3 separate regions of the Homo sapiens genome follow, and all the other regions are linked to region 1. The links are contacts of gene promoters, found by promoter capture Hi-C in blood cells and fetal thymus (Javierre and others, 2016). All regions are on one chromosome and are shown on one strand. The core of a region is centred on a gene start or on the middle of the fragment in contact, and the rest is flanking DNA. Distances in the headings are between cores, read along the strand shown.

What was found. Contacts are between HindIII fragments. The CHiCAGO score rates a contact against its expected background, and 5 or more counts as called.
Region 2: a contact is called between a fragment that was not itself captured here and the fragment with the promoter of NR4A3 in region 1, in 5 of 17 cell types (total B cells, naive B cells, fetal thymus and 2 more). The highest score is 9.9, in total B cells.
Region 3: a contact is called between a fragment that was not itself captured here and the fragment with the promoter of NR4A3 in region 1, in 3 of 17 cell types (M0 macrophages, M1 macrophages and M2 macrophages). The highest score is 13.1, in M0 macrophages.

The regions. Positions count from the first base shown.
Region 1 is chr9:99,820,584-99,823,156 of GRCh38, reverse strand. NR4A3 (nuclear receptor subfamily 4 group A member 3) reads right to left here and starts at 1,272. Exons shown (of 8, transcript NM_006981.4): 1 at 750-1,272. RefSeq lists an enhancer at 42-554 and a silencer at 1,129-1,178. The HindIII fragment of the contact is 5,731 bases long and covers 250-2,573 here.
Region 2 is chr9:99,238,843-99,241,415 of GRCh38, reverse strand. It overlaps LOC124902230 (a long non-coding RNA gene), which reads right to left. Exons shown (of 2, transcript XR_007061690.1): 2 at 644-916. Among named protein-coding and RNA genes, the nearest start is that of SEC61B, 18 kb to the right of the region's middle. The HindIII fragment of the contact is 2,671 bases long and covers 1-2,573 here.
Region 3 is chr9:99,288,250-99,290,822 of GRCh38, reverse strand. No RefSeq gene overlaps it. Among named protein-coding and RNA genes, the nearest start is that of SEC61B, 67 kb to the right of the region's middle. The HindIII fragment of the contact is 3,250 bases long and covers 1-2,573 here.

The DNA.
Region 1 (2,573 bases), core at 23-2,522:
GTCCAGAGGAGAGGGACACCGTCCCCACACGTGTCAGTGTGCGGGAGTCGCCAATTACACCCGATTTACCTCCTAAGGGAAAAGTGTAAACCGGCATGTCAGCGACGACAGGCAGACGTGCCTAGTGGAACCCCAGGCTCATTTCAATACAATAAGCCACATTCCTACAATTACGCCCTCTTTCCTGAGGTCCTCCGAGTGCGTCTGCAAACTCTGGCCGTCGCTGCCTAGGCCCTTCCCTCCTAAGCTTCCTTCCAGAGAACCAGCTCGGTGCCACCATTAGCAACATTTACTTGGACCCACCAGAGCTCCTATTTTCAATCCTACTTAAAAGGCAGGAAAATTACTGCCGTTCATCACCGGAGCTGCAACTCCCTGCCGCTGCCGCTGCCGCCGCCGCCGCCGCCGCCGAGAGCATCATTACCATGACAACTAGAGCCGAAATACCCTGAATTACATCGCTGGAGCCGCTATAGCACAAATCCCGGTCCTCCTCTTTGTTAGAGGCTTTTCGCCTCTTCGAGTGGGGGGAGGAATCCCACGAGCTCCAGAGATCCCCGCGGGCCCACTACAGGGGAAAAGTTTCAGATCAGAACCTACGGGCCGCTGGGCTAGCAAAGCCGGAGCCGGGCGGCAAGGTCAGGGGAGGGAACCCCACACTCAAAGTTGTCAATTTCAGGAGCGACGCTTCCCAGCAAGCCAACTTTTTTAGCAAGTCCCCTTATTAACTGGGCGAATCTCATACGTACTTGAGTGCTGTGGCGGTTCCGTCTTTAGAGCGAGTTTCTAGAGAGCTGTCCCGAAATCTGCACTGGGGGGGAGTCACAGCTGCTGTCCCGGAAGGGCTGCGGTGTACAAGCCCAGCGGCTCCCGGAGGCGGTGAGCGGCTGGTGGGGGATGCTGCGATCCCGACTCATGGGAGAGCACAGCCGAGAGGTTCCGCGGGCGTCCTGGCTTGGGCTGTGACCAGGGGGGAGGATGCCGCCGCTGTTCCCACCTCCACGGCCACTGCCGGCACCGTCAGCGTTGCAAAGTGAGCCCGGGAGGGGCGTCCAGCTGCGGCGCCGCGCTGCACCGGCAAGGGCTCAGGGCAAGAGGGGTGTGAGCGCGCGGGAGAGCGAAGTGTGTGTGCGGAGCCTGTGTGCGCGCTTGTGTCTGTGTGTGCGAGTGAGGGAGCGGGTGTGAGCGCGTCTGTGTATGGGGAGCGGAGGAGGAGCAGGAGCTGGAGGGGTGGGGGGCGGGAGGCAGGAGACTCCGCTCTCCCGGCTGCGCGTTCGCTCGCTCTCTCGGCACGTCATTTATGCCACAGGAGCCCTAGCGGCCTCTCCATAGAGTGCCTGGAATGCGAGACGTCAATGTGACGCCATGGGACGCTACGTCACCCTCCTCCTCCCTCCCCTGGCCCAGCCGGTTCCGCGTGTGCGAGGGAGGGTGTGTGTGTTCGTGTGCGCGCGCGCGCGCGCGCGTTCCTCGGCCAGTCGCACGGCCGCACAATGGAAACTCCGCCGCACGGCCGGCCCCGGCCTGGGGGCTTCTCTTTTTGCAGCGGAACCGCTCGCCAGGGCGTGCGTCTGCGGGAGGGTGCAGCGGCCTGCCCACGGGTCAGGCGGGACCGCCCAGCTGTCAGGCTCGGGTGGAGTAGAGTTGGAGGAGTGCTGCTGGCGCGCCTCCGAGGCTGCCCCGAGGCACGGAGCCAGGGCGAGGGGGGTAAGGGAGAGGACAGCTCTTCCGAAAGGGAAGGCTCCGCCAGCCAGCTTCTGACCAGCTCCAGTGACCTGGCAGCCGGTGCAGAAGGCGTCTGGCACCAGCCCGAAGACGCCCTGAGGTGCAGCTGCACTTTCCTCTTGCATAGGTTCTAAAGCTGTTTACGTTGCTCCGGTCCTCTGCGCCCAGGCTAATCCCCCCTCCCCGCATCATTTACTGGGTGCGTGTTTCACACAGGGATGCAGATGGTTCCGGGGATAAGGTTTGATTTCTTTACACGTACGGCGTGGGTTTCTTAACTGGACACGTTATAACCCAGCGAAGTGCACATCCATCATGCACACGCGCGCTGCAGCAGAAACTACTCTGTGTGTAAAACAAACACACACGTGTTGAACAGCTGAGCGGGTCTGACTATTGCAAATCATTCCTCCTCCCCGGCACCGGGTCAGAAATGGAACTCTCAACTAGCACTTTCACTTTTTGATGGTTGTAGATGCCCTCCGCCCACATCTCCCAAATTAAACATTTCGAAATCAATCAACAGGACTTATTAGTCAGTCCCTCGCTAGGGGATTTGCTTTGGTCTCCTCGGACACATTTGTCATGAAATGGTGTGCCGAAAGCCTGGGTGACTGTATGAAGGAGAGCAATTTCTTCCTGGAAATGATAAATTTAAGTGTAAATTTCTTGATGAAAACAAAATTTATCAGAGTTAAAGACCCCTAGTCCCAAAGGTTGCTGCTGAGTGAACGCAGTCTCTTTCAGAAATGAATTTTTGGACAGGAGAAAATATTTGAGTGAAACAATGCAGATAGAGTGGTCCCCATGTGGTCCGCTTGAATCACAAATACCGTTTTATATGTTTG
Region 2 (2,573 bases), core at 48-2,547, 580 kb after region 1:
AGTACTGAGGCCTGGCGTAGTGGCTCACGCCTATAATCCTAGCTATTCAGGAAGCTGAGACATAAGAATTGCTTGAACCGGGGAGGCGGAGATTGCAGTGAACCGAGATCGCACCACTGTGCTCCAGTCTGGTCAACAGAGGGAGACTCTGTCTCAAAAAAAAAAAACAAAAAAAAACTACTGAGCACTGAGAATAAACTCAGCTTTTTATAAATAGATGTGGCATAACAATGAGAAGCCATTATTTCACAAATTGCAGTTCTTAGGGGAACAGTACAGATCTATAACTAGATAAGCCACGAATGCACAGTTGCTTATTCCTATACTATCCTTAAATCACTCCATTACTATTTTGATAAATATTACAGCACATTTCTAGGTCTTCACACCTAGGTACCTCGGTACCTGCTTTAAACCTTGAAAATTTCCTTTAAATAAAAATTAAATAGACATAATAAGAATTTAAAATATGTTCTGGTACTGGCTCAATAGCACAAGAGCATGTGACATGAAGCTATTATAGTAACATCAGCAGGGCCATGGGAGGATTTTATTAGACATATCAGATACTTTATTAAACACCCAGAGCCTTCTCATCATAAATGCAGCCAAGCAGCCCGAGTGATGGGGACGAAGCACCTCATGAGCTCTAATCTCTTTATTCTGGTATTTAATAACTATGAATAAGCAGGGATGGATGGTATCGTTTACAAGTCGTCGTGAACCCAGGAAAAGGGTGATTTCAAAGGTTCCTTTGGGGTCGTTGAGGCCTTGTCTATAAAATGTGCCTGGATCATCTGGGTTTCTCTTCATCCGCAGTACCTCGTCTTCCTCTTCATCCGCAGTACCTCGTCTTCAGCTGCACTAGACTCCCAAGAACTAGGTAAAGGGAGACTCTGGAGTCTGGAACCCTCACCTGCAAGTACGTCACTGAGTTAGCCACAAAAGCCTTCTCCAATTGTTCGATCTTGTTCCCTAGCAGCCTACATTATTGTACCTGAATAGGGAATAGGGAAAGGCTTCCTGTTCCCTGCAACTGGAAAGCAGTTTAAATACATCACACATGTACACAGAGCTCTTCCTTGACATTTACAGAATGGCCCAAAGAAGGCAGGGATTCCCCAAGAGCTGTGAGCTGCCCCATCACAAAAGGTCTGCTAGCAAAGTCAAAGGCTGAATAGAGGATTTCATAATCAAATTGGGAGTGGGGAGGGAAGGTTGGCCTACAGGACTTCGGTTTCCTTTTCAGTCCTAAAAGTTGAAGATTCTATGACTGATGTAGGACCAAATGCTACTCAATGTTGATAATATTTGTTATTTAAGGCTTATGTGCCAGGAAACTGTGCTGAATACTTTACTTCAATTCTTTCATTTAACCCTCACATGAAATAAAAGTCAGCCCCGCATCCCTTCTATACGGTTCTATATCTGATTATCCACAGACCAGGGAACTGAGGTTCAGAGGCAGCTGAGCCACGAGATCACATGGCTCATTAAGTGCCAGGCAGGGTCTAAGGCCCGCCCCAGAGCCTGTGCTTTCTACCTTTCAGGGTTGCTTCACCCACACAGGGGCAGAGTTACACAACTGGATTGTAAAGGGAGCTTGCCAGAGCTCCAGCCTGAAATCATTCCTCTACCTCTGGCCACTGTTTGTCAAGGATCTGCACAGGAAAACAGGAGATCCAGGGGTGACAGAGGTGGGAAAATCAAGAGTTTGTGGGCTGCAGGGAGAAGACTCAAAGGTCAAAGCCTTTTAGCTACTGTACAGTGAACGTGAGAAAGATGCTCAGGAGTAGGTTTATCCCCAAGAGGGACATTCCAGGGAAGGGAAATTCTAACCAAAAGTATTCCTTTTTCCTTTGAGTCACAGGCTTAGTTCCTCTGGGGGACCTTGGCCAGGCAGGATGTTTGAGGCTAGAGCCAGCCCTTGTTCCCCCTCTTCACTGTGCAAATCCCTCCTGGCAGAAAGCCACCCTATCTCAAGCCTGGGCTGCTGTTTTTAGAGCCCTCCCTACAATCCGTTCATGGCCTGAGCCCACCTGAGGAGCCAGAGGTTCTCTGGCTATTCACAGATGCTGAGATTAGAGTCAGTAGAAGGTGGAAGACAAATTTAAGAGGTCTGGCTTTCTCTCTCTCTCAAAAGGCAGCCCCCGGCAGTGTTTGTTCTCAGAGCAGCCCTGGGAAGAAGGATGGTCACTTTCCTTTCTCCCAAAGATAACTGAAGAGAAGTAAGAAAGTACCTGTGCTTGAAAGCAAAATGACAACAATTAATCTCTAAGCACAAGGCCTAGCCATTAAATTCTTTGGAGAAACAACTTTAGGAGTTTAACGACAATCAAGAGCATAAAATTGAATTAAGAGAAATAGTAATTAAATCAGGAAAGAAGTTTTTGCAACGGGGATGGTAAAGGAAATTAAAACCAGTAATGTTGAAAAATGTGGTGGGCAGAGCGGGGGGAGGGGGGGCTTGGTGGAGAAGAGCAAAGAGCCAAGCACAAAGCAAACTAGGTTGGGAGATGCAGAATGTATGGCACTCAGAAAAGGAATTTGGAAATTGTTCTCCTTGAAAGACC
Region 3 (2,573 bases), core at 48-2,547, 530 kb after region 1:
ACCTCCAAGTCTTTGCAAATCAGACGTTCTGGGAATTGAAGATGTTGGTTCCCCCCAAACTTTTCTGCAGGCCTAGTATCTGCCAGGCTGTGTGCTGGGAAAGGATGAAGTAGACCCAGCTCCTAGTGATGCTAAGTGAAACCCCAGTGTGATGGTTAATACTGAGTGTCAACTTGATTGGCTTGAAGGATGCAAAGTATTAATCTTGGGTATGTCTGTAAGGGTATTGCCGAAAGAGATTAACATCTGAGTCAGTGGGCTGGGAAAGGCAGACCCACCGTTAATCTGGGTGGGCACCATATAATCAGCTGCCAGCACAGCTAGAATATAAAGCAGGTAGAAAAACATGAAAAAGCTAGACTGGCCTAGCCTGCCAGCCTACATCTTCTCCCGTGCTGGATGCTTCCTGCCCTCAAACATCAGACTCCAAGTTCTACAGTTTTGGGACTTGGATTGGATGTCTCCTTGCTCCTCAACTTGCACACGGCCTGTTTTGGGACCTTGTGATCACTTGAGTTAATACTTAATAAACTCCCCTTCATATATGTATTTATTTATATATTTATATATATATGGGAGTTTAAGTATTAATAGGATTTTATATATATATCCTATTAGTTCTGTCCCTCTAGAGAACCCTGACTAATACAGCCAGTTTAGTGAGAAGACAGACAAGCCAGCAGCTAACTCCAGTGCAAGGCAGAATGGTGTACATGTTGGAAAGAGGTGACCAACAGCCAGCTATGAGTTTGAGGGATAGTTGTGATGAAGAACCACCCAGAACTGGAGGAAGTCCCCATAGCCTGCTTCCTTGAGTTAGAGGGCTCTGGTTATGGGGAAATGGTCTATATATAATAATACTTTTTATTGAGCATTTATTAGGTGCCAGACACTTAGCCCACTTGTCAGTTAATAGGCATAACAGTCCAAGGTAGGTACTACTGTTTTCCCCTATTTTACATATGAAGAAATCAAGGATAGAGAGGGCAAGTAATGTGCCCAAGGTCACATGCCCTAATACGAGGTCAGCCCTAATGTGAAGCTAGGCAGTCTACTTCCAGCCATTGCTCCTAATGAGGCTGCTATTCTCAATGCCTCTAGAAGAACAATGAAAGGTTTGGACCAGGCTGTCTATAATGCCTGGCCTCCCGAAACACCAGGAATGTCCAGTACTACCCCTCCAGGATGGGGCTGAGAGGAAAGCAGGAGTTCCTGGACCAGGTGAATGCAGCATCCATATTAACTTCATGCTCCCAAGTATGGATTCCTGAGCCTTGAACTCCACGGTATCTCTGAGAAGCCTTCTCACACACAGCTTCACCTTCCTAAAGCTCCCCATGAATCCAGAACAGAAGAGGAAAGCCTCGTTCTAAGATGCCCACATCCACATAGATTTTTCCGTAAACTCCCTCGACTTTCAGCTGGAATTAGATCTGGTTTCTGAAATCCAGACCATGAAGGGGTGGGGCGAAGTTCTGGGAGGGCCAAGCTGGGAGTGCCTGGTACACACAGGGAAACTGCTTCCATTGACCTGGACAGGCGCTGGGACAAAGTAAGAAGACAGGTGAACTACAAAGCCATCAGGTAGCCCTCAGTCCAAAGTCAATGATGAGACTGCAGCCTCACGACGTGTGGGGGCTTTACAGTGTCAATTTAGTGAAGCTGGAGTTGTGTTTCTTAGAATTCCCTTTTCTGGTTCGTGCCAGGTCAGCTTTGGCCACAAGTACACTTTGCAAGAGATTCAGAACAAGGAAAGGCAGCAGCAGCCACATTCTTGTTATGTTCAGAGGCCAGGGCAGGGCACAAGCCCTCACAGACATTGTCACATATCTTCTGGGTGGTGTGGGCCAGCATTGGGAACTGCGGCCCCCCCGAAGCCCACCAGCTCCTGCAGACGCTCTTGTTTCAGCTCCCCTGATCCCTGGGCCAGTTCAGCATTTTGTTTTTGTTCCATAAGAAAATGCATAACTTCTGTAAATCATCCCCCTCATCAAAGTTGGAGTCTTGGGTGAAGTGAGATACCAGTGTGGATTCCACCCCATTCCCTGAGTTCCAGCCGATCCATTTTAACCTCAGTTCTCCACTTCCTGTCCATCATTTCTTCCCCACTTCTGTATCTGATGCTGACTTCAGGCCCCAGCACCAGACACAGAAATAATGGCCTTGCATAGACCAGTCCCCGCAATTATATAAGGTGAAATGTCTATAGCCAACCCCTTACTGTGTCTGTCTCACCAAGTGGCTCTGCTTCTCTGACTGAACCCCAAGTGATATGAAGAGGAAAACGAGGCCAAGCCTGGCAGAATGGAGGGAGGGATAGGCTCAATTCCAATTCACAGCAGAGGTAGGTTTGTCTGGTGCAGGACCTGATGAAGCTCTTGAGCTTCTGAATGTGGGCTAATTAGCTGTCTTGTGAAACTATTGATCTCAGAACCTGAAGAAGACCCAACCAGTCAAGGAGCAAATGGCTTCAGTTAATGGAAGGCTGGAATTAGCTGGGGTCACATCAGAACTTTTGTATGACTTAGATACAGCACTATAGCTGCTATAGACACCACACACACACACACACA